Regions from separate parts of the Homo sapiens genome. Here region 2 is linked to region 1. The links are contacts of gene promoters, found by promoter capture Hi-C in human tissues and cell types (Jung and others, 2019). All regions are on one chromosome and are shown on one strand. The core of a region is centred on a gene start or on the middle of the fragment in contact, and the rest is flanking DNA. Distances in the headings are between cores, read along the strand shown. Region 1 holds the start of BEND7 (BEN domain containing 7). Region 2 overlaps SEPHS1 (selenophosphate synthetase 1).

The links. Contacts are between HindIII fragments. The study calls those that stand out against the background at their distance.
Region 2: a contact is called between a fragment that was not itself captured here and the fragment with the promoter of BEND7 in region 1, in 1 of the 25 tissues and cell types used here (H1 embryonic stem cells).

What each region holds. Positions count from the first base shown.
Region 1 is chr10:13,526,450-13,532,034 of GRCh38, reverse strand. BEND7 (BEN domain containing 7) reads left to right here and starts at 3,021. Exons shown (of 9, transcript NM_001369863.1): 1 at 3,021-3,562. The coding sequence starts at 3,502. It overlaps BEND7-DT (BEND7 divergent transcript), which reads right to left and starts at 3,431. Exons shown (of 2, transcript XR_930674.3): 1 at 3,383-3,431; 2 at 1,771-2,015. The HindIII fragment of the contact is 10,469 bases long and covers 1-5,585 here.
Region 2 is chr10:13,312,368-13,318,422 of GRCh38, reverse strand. It overlaps SEPHS1 (selenophosphate synthetase 1), which reads left to right. Exons shown (of 9, transcript NM_012247.5): 9 at 1-995. Among named protein-coding and RNA genes, the nearest start is that of PHYH, 15 kb to the right of the region's middle. The HindIII fragment of the contact is 4,836 bases long and covers 1-4,634 here.

The DNA of each region.
Region 1 (5,585 bases), core at 1,772-4,271:
TTTAGAATGGTAAGAAAATAAGCTGCTGTTAAGTCACCCAGTATGTGGTATTTGTTAAGATAGCCCGAACAGGCTAATACAGTAGTCCCCCTTTATCCATGATTTCAGTTACCTGCAGTCACCTATGGCCTGCAAATATTGAATGGAAACTTCCAGAAATAAACAATGCATCAATTTAAAATTGTGCCCCATTTTGAGTGGCATGATGAAATCTTTAGCCAACCTGCTCCTTCCGGCCCAGAATAGGAATCATTCTTTAGCCTAGCGTATTCACATTGTCTGCACTATCTGCTCGTTAGTCACTTGTTGGCTTGGTTATTAGAAAACATAAAACAATAAAAAACACGGTATATATGGGGTTTGATGGTAACATAGTATATACGGGGTTCGGTACTATCCTCAGGTTCAGACATCCACTGAAGGTCTTGGACATACTCCCCAAGGATAAGGATCAGCTACTATATGGATACCTGCTACTTAAAGCAATCTCACTTTATGTTTTATTTTATATTTTAATTTTTTGGTAGAGACCGGGTCTCAGGATGTTATCCAGGTTGGTCTTGAATTTCTGGCCTTAAGCAATCCTTCTGTATCCCAAAATGTTGGGATTACAGGTGTGAGCCACTACACCTGGCCCCAAGCAACCTCATTTTAATTAAACATTATTATTAATTTTAATACTAAATGTGATATATACATTTTTGTTAGATAAGAGCATAGTGATTTGCACAAAATGCAGAGTAAACAGACATTTATTTTCTCTAAAAGCTAATAAGACAAGCGTAGCCTGTGTCCTCTGCAGGCCAACTCACTCATAGACCAACTTTGGAAAGCCAGGTTAAAAAGGGTCAAGGAGAAATGACTACTATTTAAAAATATTCTTACTCAAATATTTTATTCTTAACTATATCAAAAATATTCTCTTCAGTAAATGGAATTTGCATTCCCACTTGAACTGAAAATGCTAAGTTGTTAATACCTTCTCCAGGGATTTACTTCTTGGGATGACACCTTCACTGGGTTCGTCATAGTTTAAGCATAATAAAATCTCATTATATGCTCCAAAGCATGAACGATCCGGGAAGTTCCTCAGTCAGTGTAGAACTTAGCCTTACGGCTTTGAGAATAACATTTTAAAAGGCATTACATAAAGAAAGAATGGATCCCAGCCTGGGGAACAAAATTGCATGCTTTGTTTCTTTAAAAACATCCAAAACAGCCGGACGTGGTGGTTCACGCCTGTAATCCCAGCACTTTGGGAGGCCTAGGCGGGCTGATCACTTGAGGTCAGGAGTTTGAAACCAGCCTGGCCAACATGGCGAAACCCCATCTCTACTAAAATACAAAAAATTAGCTGGGCGTGGTGGCCCATGCCTGTAATCCTAGCTACTTGGGAGGCTGAGGCAGGAAAATCGCTTGAACCCGGGAGGTGGAGGTTGCAGTAAGCTGAGATCGCACCACTGCACTCCATCCTGGGCGACAGAATGAGACTCTGTCTCAAAAAATAAAAAATAAAAAAAAATCCAAAACATCTTCAGATTTTAATGCCTGATTTTAAAGAAAGGGGTGGCAGGGAAGGAAGAAACCCAAATAGGGTAGTTGCTTTAATCACTGTTACCACTAATTTTCTGAGAGCAGCAAAGCGCGTCTAAGAACTCCAATAAATCTATACTAAATTTTATATGTCCCATACATATTTTCTGGGAAAAAGGGCCCTTGAGCTTTGAACACAATCTCAAAGGAAACAGTGACTAAAAAAGGTTAAGAACCTCTTGTTGAAGGGTTTGCTTTATTGAACGGAAGAAACAGTTCTCCCTCTCCCCTCCACGCTAGGTATAACCAGCCTTCCGGATGTGCCGCCTTTGGTATCACCCAAGATCTCGGGATGGGTACCCATCCCTGCCTCCACTGCCTGGTTTGCTGGTTACCCTGCTCTTTGGTTCTGTTTCTCCATGTGTGTTTCTGCAAGCTGCCTCAATGTCCCCCTTCCTCGGCAGTTGTCCTACTCTGTGTCCCTGAAATAAGAGCGGTTCCTCAGCGGCTGCCTCATTTGGGTGAGACCCACGTGACACTCATCACATTTGTCAACCTCCCCTTTTTCCTCTCTACTCTTTTGGGGCCACTGGCCTTTGTCCCGTGCCGGAGAGGTAGCCCCCCCATCCCCCGACTCTTTACCCTCTTCCTGGTTGGGTTTGGCAGATACTTTCACGCATGTCCCGTCATGTTCCTGTCCTACCATTCCCAGGTAGTGTGAAATTCTTTTCCTGGCCCACTCGAAAGATGTGAGAAAGAAATGGTGCCTGAAGTGCGCTCTCTGATCCCCCGAAAAGAATATTACACATAACTACTAAGCGCTTTGTGTTTGGGTCCATGATTCCGACATATGACGTGGAGAAGCATAGTGCCCTGCACCTGCCTTGACCATGGCCTCCTGAGAGTCCCCAGGGCCACCAAGCCCCCCATTCCAAGTGCTCTCCTTGAATGTGACTCGGCTCTTTCCACAATCCGCCCAGCCTGGGTTAGGGAATGGGAGCTCTCTACTATATTCTTCTCCACAATATTCTAAAACCTCCTCTCTGTCCTTCTAGAGAGAGCGCAAATGGGTAAGTTTTTTCCCCCTAAAACTTGCTTAAAATCAGCGCGTCGGGCCCCGGGGCGCCCGGGATGTGAGGGCGGGGAGGTGGTTGTCGGGGCGGTCCGCGCCCCCACGGCGAGGTGCACGGAGTTAGCTCGGCCCAGCAAGCGGCGGAGGGAGGCCAGCGAGCGGGGTCTGCGAGCGGAGGCCCGGGCGGCGGCGTCGTCCCCGGGGGCAGGCAGGCCGGCCGGGCCCGGGCCAGGGCGCTGCGCCGCGGCCTCCGCGCCTCCTCGGGGCGCCGCGCGGCCAGGCCGGCGGCGGCCCCCGGGGATGGCGGCGGCCGGGCTCCGCCAGCAGGTGGCCCTGGGGTCCCAGCGGCACCGCCCCCTCCGCCGGCGCCCCTCCTCCCGCGGGGGCGGTCAGCGCCCCGGCCGGCTCTGCACCCGCCGCCGCCCTCCCCGCAGCCCGCCCGCCGCGTCTTCGGGGCCGCCGCCGCCGCCGCCGCGACCGCAGGCTGAGCCCAGGCGGGCCGGCCGCCCCGAGCCGCCCCCCGCCTCCGCCGCCGCCGCCGCGCCCCGGCCCGGCCCGCTCCCAACGGAAAGTTGGGCTGCGGCGGGCGGCGTCTGGAACCCGCGGGCCGGCATGAGCGGGGGCCGCGGGGGCGCCTAGGGCACCGGGAGGCGGCGCCGCGCGGGGGCAACTTCGCCCGGGAGCCCACGCCGCCGGGCCCCGCGCCTGCAGCCCCGAGCCGGCTCGCGGTGGTTCCTCCCGTCCCGCGGCCTCCCCTCGCCGACTCCAGGCGCGGACCTTGGTCCCGGCGGCTCCGCCGCGGTGACACGAGCCCGCGCCGCCGCTGCCGCTGCCGCCGCTGCCGCTGCCGCCGCTGCCGCCGCCTCCTCAGCCCCCGCCGCCGCCTTCCCCGCACCATGGAGTTCTCCGAGAGGAAAAGAAGCAGGAAATCCCAGAGCTTCAAACTGGTGAGCCGAGGTAAGCGGCCGCCGGGGCGGCGGGGGCAGGCAGCGGGCGCCGCGCCCTCGGCCGCCCGCGGGGGTCCACGCTGGGGGGCGCGCCCTCCCGGAGCCCCCGGTCCTTCCCGGTCCCCCGGTGCCTCCGCCGGGCTGGCAGGCAGGGCCGCGGCCGCACACGCCGGGCGGCGGGGAAAGTTGTGCGGGGGGAGCAGGGATGTTATTTAACGTAAACAAGTCGGAGGGCAGCTCAGGAAATTAGCAAACAATGACACCGGGGGGCCCGAGCCCTCCTCGGGGCGCCTCCGGGGCAGGGCTGGGGCGGCCGCGGACCTGCCTGGCCATCAGGCCGAGCGTGGACCCTCGGACCTGAGATTTGCTGTTTTTGTTTTCTGGGGTCTTCCCCCTTCCCCCCGCCAAGAGAAGGAGGAAAAAGGATGACCGTTGTTGTTCTTTTTAAGAAGGAGAAAGAAGCTCACGCCGTGTCCAAGCCCAAGGCGGAATTGTTGACATCCAACATCTCTAGCTAGCTGATTTGGGTTGGAAAGGTGTTTTAGACTAGATCATATAGCAGTCAGATAAGCATCCTTTAAAAAAAAGAAAAAAGAAAAGAAAGAAAAGAAATCCATCTAGTTTCTGACGAATTAACAGGTGTACACCACACTCTAGGGTTTGTATTTTGTCAGGGAGGGGAAAGTGGAATACAGTCTTGTCTGTGTTCAGTTACTTGTTAAGAGTCTTTATCTTCCTGATTTGACTTTTTTTTTTAAAAAAATGATAACTCAAGAGCCATCGTGAAAATATATCTCAAAATGCATTGTCATCTTTAATTAGGGGCAGGTGACTTTTTTCATTGTAATGTCACAAGTCCTCATATTGAGTTTAGACCCGCTCTGTTTAAATGTCGTCTTTTAATCAAGTTGAGGTCAAAGCCAAACCCCAACCTGTCCACTTTTCCTCTGTCGTTTTCTCTAGCATTGGCATCAGGGTAGAAACTCCAACAACCTGCAGAAGTCACGTGTAAACTGATGAAAATTAGTGAAAAAATCGTGGACAATTGCAAGTAATCGAATTTTTCAAACTGAGCTAAGCTAGCTAAGATGTGGATTTGGTTCATCTGAAAATGCTTTGATTATAGGCATTTTGAAGATCCATTCTTATCTGCCTCCCCTAATTTAGTTTGGATACTGTTTAATGAAAGAGGCCTGAAATAGTTTCACGCATTCAAAATACTTGGCTCTTCCCACTTTCTGAGTAAATTTTTTTTTCCACATCCGTGTTGATTACTCAGTTACTTGGACTTTTAAAAGTCTCTGTCTGGGTGATTGCCCTGTTGGTGCTATCTGATTCATTCAGGAATGTAAGCTGCTTTCTTATTGATGACCTCAGAGAACTTAACTGCTTTATCTTAAAAGTGAGAGTAGTTTTGTTGACTTTGTCCTGTGAGGTCTAAGGCCAGAGAAAGGGGACTAGGTGTTAAGGAGGAACCTCTATTTTCATGCCTTAGTGACCCTGCTTTTCAAAAATAGAAGCAAAAATGCAGTAGCCTCCATAGAGAAGCTTGTAAAATACTGTATTTGAAACTTTGACTGACGTAGCAAGTTTTTCCTTTTTCCTTTTTTCTTTTTCTTTTAATTATAGGTCTGATTCTTCTCTTTCTCTGCAGGTGCAGTTTTAGAAAATAAACTTGCATATTAAATAAAGTGCAGTAGCTGAATGCGAAAGAGTCACTTGTGTGAAAGATGAAAATCTTGCTTTCTTATCCAAATCATACTACATTTGAAATAACAAATCAGTATTTTTCATGTGTGCTTGCCTTTAAGCTGCTTAAAGGCTGAGATTTTCTGGGTAAACTGAGAAAACTAGAGTGCTGGCTAAACTTTAAAGCATACTGTTGATATGCTGGTGAAAATGGGTTGTGAAGAGAAATTTGGAAACCTCCCCTGCTCTATGATTGGGCAAACATACTTGCCACCTCAAAGAAAAAAAGCCTAAAAATTGGCATCTGTGGGTACAATTTACCGTGAACATGGTGTGATCAAGCA
Region 2 (6,055 bases), core at 967-3,466, 210 kb after region 1:
TGTTCTATAGTGCTACAAGGAATTGCCTTCCGAATGGAGGTTCATGTATAATACTCATTTACAATTCAATATATAATTACACAAATAATTTTTAAATATAATCAATAGTAAAGACTGTTCTGTGGATGGTAGTGTTTAATACATTTTCTATTTTGTACAGTGATTTCAGGCCTTTTGTTTTCTTAAAATCAGCAGCTGTTTGGCCTAATTCTTAGCATTATTTTGTCCTTTGCGCCAGTACTTTTTTGTGCACGCTTTTTGTGATCTGTGTTAAAAACCTGCATTGCCAACATTGCAGCTCGAACTTAAACTTGTTATTCAAATAAATATTTAATTTTTTAAATTGCTCTTGTATAATCAGATGCCCCTTTTAGTATTATTTTAGAAGCGTTGGGAGGGTTTTGCCTAAAGTACAATTTATCGGGAAAAACTAGATTTTAGTTTTATAAAACTTTTAAGTCTTTCATGGGACCTATATTTTCTTGAATTAAATTTTGTAGTTCTAGAATAAATAGGCAATCTAAAAAGGTGTTCTCTGTGTTATGTAAAGTGGAGGCTTCCTTATATTTTAACCTACTAAGCAATGAGGAGGGATTCCTGTCATTAAGCACAAGGGCGCTGGATCCTCAAGTGCCCATCTTCGTGAGAGAAAAAGCAGCACATCCTGCCCATTTCTGGTGCTTTCTGCTCACAGGCACCAAAGCTGCACATGTAAACTGACTTCTTGCCAAAGGAAATGACCCCTGGGAAGTTCAAGCTCCTGGAAGAGGCTTTAACTCGGACGCGCCCTCCTCCAGGAACCAGTGGGCAGGGCAGCCTTCATGCATGTGTAACTGGACCTCCAGCCATAAGCATGGTGTGCAGTATGGAAGAGCCTGCTACGGAACTGAAAGTGATTGGACATTTTATAGGAATTGATAGAGATGTTGGTCCTCAAAAGCTACAAACCAGTGGTCTGCAAAATAAAGTGTGTTGGAAACCTCTAGTGAGATAAACCTACTGTTGAGCTTTTTTTTTTTTTTTTTTTTAAATAACGATGACTGAACTTCAGTGTAGCCTGTGCCGTGAGAGCTGGTGTTTTCCTCAGTGGCAGGCCTATTGAGAGGAGGGAGCTAAGTGGAGTATGTACTTAAGGAAATAATATTTGTGAAGATTGATATTTATAAAGAGAAAATGTTGGGTACTTAGAGGTCCGTGTAAGTCTTATGATCCCAAGAGGAAGAATTTGTATTTAAAGCAGTGTTGGCTGGGCATGGTGGCTCACACCTGTAATATCAGCACTGTGGGAGGCCGAGGTGGGCAGATGACCAGAGGTCCAGAGTTCAAGACCAGACTTGCCAACATGGTGAAATCCTGTCTTTACTAAAAATACAAAAATTAGCTGGGTTTGGTGGCGCACACCTGTATTCCCAGCTACTGGGTAGGCTGAGGCACAAGAATCGCTTGAAGCCGGGAGATAGAAGTTGCAGTGAGCAACCTGCCATCACACCACTGCACTCCAGCTTGGGCGACAGAGACTCAGTCTCAAGAAACAGACTCAAGTCTCAACAAGCAAACAAAAACCAGTATTGTATAGTGGCCCAGATTCACCTGTGTTAGAATCACCCGGGGTGTTAGAAGGCAACATTCCTGCCCCTGATTTTCCAGATTCACAGAATCAGAATTTCTGGGGTGTGGGACTTTGGGAATATCTTAAATAAGGACCCTATGGGGCTATGGCCAAAAAAGTTTCAGAACCATGGGTGCAGCACACCAACATGGCACATGTATACATATGTAACAAACCTGCACGTTGTGCACATGTACCCTAAAACTTAAAGTATAATTTAAAAAAAAAACTGATCTCAAAAGGAATGTTGCAGAGGAAGGCAGGGAAAGTAAGAGGACCTGGTTTTGCAACTTTTTTTTTTTTTTTTTTTTTGAGGCGGAGTCTCTCTATCAGCCAGGCTGGAGTGCAGTGGTGCGATCTCAGCTCACTGCAACCTCTGTCTCCCAGGTTCCAGTGATTCTCCCGCCTCAGCCTCCCGAGTAGCTGGGATTACAGGCGCATGCCACCAAGCCTGACTGATTTTTGTATTTTTAGTAGAGACAGGGTTTTGCCATGTTGGTCTCGAACTGAGCTCAAACGATCCGCCTGCCTTGGCCTCCCAAAGTGCTGGGATCACAGGTGTGAGCCACCATGCCCAGCCTTTTGCAACATATTTTGCAGGAATTTTTTCCTCGACCATTCTCTTACCGACCATTCCGACCAAATCTTGACCATTCTGTTTACTTCCCACATCTGAGCTACGGCCCAGCAAGGCAGCAGAAAGACCTGTATTTTGAAAGCTCCACGAAGACTCAAATGATTGTCACTGAATATTGGAGTTCTTGGCAAAATCTATGTAGAACATTTTAAAAGTCAGTGGACAGGCCAGACATGGTGGCTCACGTCTATAATCCTAGCACTTTGGGAAGCTGAGACAGGAGGATCACTTGAGCACAGGAGTTCGAGACCAGCCTAAGCAACATAGTGAGACCTCGTCTCTACAAAAAATAAAATTTAAAAAGTGAGTGGAGAGTAAGTAGTCGATTTGACTTTCTGGTAGCACTTTAAAACTTCACACTGAAGTGTATTTATCTTGGTATACTGATTTGTTTTCTGTAAATCATATAGTATAGTTGCATCCAAAAATACAGTCTGTTAGAATGCATAGAATTAGTGAATACAACCTGAGGCAGCTGGATCATGGTGGAGTCAGTCATTCAGGCACTAGGAATAATCTGAAGGAATATTGAAGCTGCTTATTTGCACAGGCTGTGTTGAGGTATTTATTGTGTTTCAGTCCAAGAAAAATTGAAATATTGTATAAGCAATATGTACTTTTTGGCTCAGTCTTTAAAAATAGTAGATTATAGTCTTCCAAGTTCTGCATGCTTTATAATGAATAAATGTGTTTCAAATTGTTCTGTTTATAGATGAATGAGCCAGGCATTTTCAGTCTGAATTTAGCATTCCCTTTAAAAGAGTTATATCTGAGTTCTCAATCTTAGTTTTAATTGTATAGAGACCAGAATAGCTATACTGTGCTGCACTTTATTTTTAGGTAATAGAGCAAGCGTAGTCATCGACGCTTCAGATACCAGTCGTGTCCGTGTGTGTGTTTTTGTGTATATTTGTTTGTATATATCCTTGAGTTGCTCACTTCCACACCCAGCCCACCCTTTCCTCTAGCTTAGGCAGTGGTTGCATAGACAACATAATTTACTTTGAACAGTAATTTGTAAATTTTTCTCATTAAGAATCCGCATATGAATTATAGTCATTACATATGCCAAGGGGCACAGTGAAAATCACCAATGTCCTGTTAAAAGTGAAGCCTGGGAATATCCTGTTATCTATGCTGAAATCTCTGTGTCTTGAATGAGGATGGGAGTGGATGGATTACACAAGGTCTTCATTCGGTAAAGCAGTAGGTGAGACGGTGCTCCCATAGGCATCTAGACTGGTTCTGGAATTGCCTGGAATCCAAGCCTGCTGCCAATGCCAAATGCTTTGATTTGTCTGTGAATTCAGGGTAAGGAAGGTGCTGTAAGTTTCCCTACGTTTCACAGTCCTTAAATATGACATCCAGCACTGAACACACAGTTGATGCTTTCCATGGTTTTTGTCCTTTCTAAGTCCTGTTGCTTTCAGAGGGAGTTTTATGCTTAGGAGAAACTGCATGTAATGAAGCCTATCAAAGCTTCATAGAAACAGAAAAGACCATGTGCGGTGGCTCACGCCTGTAATCCCAGCACTTTGGGGGGCCGAGGTGGGCGGATCACCTGAAGTCAGAAGTTCGAGACCAGCCTCAACATGGAGAAACCCCATCTCTGCTAAAAAAAAAAAAAAAAAAAAAGAAAATACAAAATTAGCCAGGCATGGTGGTGCATGCCTGTAATCCCAGCTACTCGGGAGGCTGCGGCAGGAGAATTGCTTGAACCTGGGAGGCGGAGGTTGTGCCGAGCTGAGATTGCGCCATTGCACTCCAGCCTGGGCAACAAGAGCGAAACTCCGTCTCAAAACAAACAAACAAACAAACAAACAAACAAAAACAGAAAACTCACTCTATTAGTGATCTGATTGCAGAAAAGCCAGTGTGTTTTCTACTATTATATTTTTAGAACAAGCATAGGCCCGTAGAAAATTATAAGGGCCTGGCTGGGCACAGTGGCTCACGCCTGTCATCCCAGCACTTTGGGAGGCCGAGGCTGGCAGATCCCGAGGTCAGCAGTTCGAGACCAACCTTACCAACATGGTGAAACCCTGTCTGTACTAAAAATACAAAAATTATCCGGGTGTGGTGGTGCGCACCTATAATCCCAGCTACTCGGGAGGCTGGGGCAGGAGAATCGCTTGAACCCGGGAGCCAGAGGTTGCAGTGAGCCAAGATCGTGCCATTGCACTCCAGCATGGGTGACAGAGCGAGACTTTGTCTCAAAAAAAAAAAAACAGAAAAGAAAAAAACGAGGCCGGGCGCGGTGGCTCACGCTTGTAATCCCAGCACTCTGGGAGGCCGAGGCGGCGGATCACAAAGTCAGGAGATCGAGACCACGGTGAAACCCCGTCTCTACTAAAAATACAAAAAATTAGCCGGGCATGGTGGCGGGTGCCTGTAATCCCAGCTACTCGGAGAGGCTGAGGCAGGAGAATGGCTTGAACCTGGGAGGCGGAGCTTGCAGTGAGTCGAGATCGTGCCACTGCACTCCAGCCTGGGCGACAGAGCGAGACTCCATCTCAAAAAAAAAAAATTAAAACGGCCTATAAAATGTTAACGTTGATCATTACCCAGTATCCAGTCCTATATGTTGCTTAATTCTTTTTTTTTTTTTTTCTTTTTTTTTTTAGGCAGAGTCTCACTCTGTCACCCAGGCTGGAGTGCAGTGGCGTGATCTCCGCTCACTACAAGCTCCGCCTCCCAGGTTCAAGCCATTCTCCCGCCTCAGCCTCCCAAGTAGTTGGGATTACAGGCACCTCCCACCATGCCCGGCTAATTTTTGTATTTTTAGTAGAGATGGGGTTTCACCATGTTGGGCAGGCTGATCTCGAACTCCTGACCTCAAGTGATGGGGGTCACTCAGCCTCCCAAAGTGCCGGGATTACAGGCATGAGCCACCGCACCTGGCTGGCATATCTCTTTCTTACTACATCCAGGAAACGTTTCTCCATTTTCAGGACTCATGATTGCAGTGGGCTCACCCAGATAATACGGGGTGATCCCCCTATCAAAGTCCTTAACGTTAATCACATTTGGAAAATCCCTTTTGCCAGGTAAGGTAACAGCCACAGATTCCAGGGATTAGGGCGTGAACATCTTTGGGGAGGACCGTTATTCTCCCCACCACAAGGCCGTATACCCACGGGGTAGCTTCTTCACCAGGGGAGAGATTTTTGCAGCCATGAAGCAAAGCTGTTGCCTCAAACATGGTATTTTTAAAATCAGTGAACAAGAATTGCTTACACAGCCATACCAAGCGGGGGCCAGCAGGGTGGCAGGTCTGTTCACCACTAGCTACCAAGCTTTGTGCACAAAGCAAACGTGGGCCACTAGACAGGCTGTGGCAGAATCGACTTACCTTTTTTTTTTTTTTTTTTTTTTGAGACTGAGTCTCGCTCTTGTCACCCAAGCTGAAGTGCAGTGGCACGATCTCGGCTCACTGCAACCTCCACCTCCAGAGTTCAAGAGATTCTCCTGCCTCAGCCTCCCCAGTAGGTGAGATTACAGGTACCCGCCACCACACCCCGCTAATTTTTGTATTTTTAGTAGAGATGGGGTTTCACCATGTTAGCCAGGCTGGTCTCAAACTTCTGACCTCAGGTGATTTGCCCCCCTCTGCCTCCCCAAGTGCTGGGATTACAGGCATGAGACACTGTGCCCGGCTGGAATCGACTTTTCTTTTTTCTTTCTTTTTTTTTTTTTTGAGATGTGGTTTCGCTCTTGTTGACCAGGCTAGAGTGCAATGGCGTGATCTCAGCTCACGGCAACCTCCGCCTCCTGGGTTCAAGAGATTCTCCTGCCTCAGCCTCTGGAGT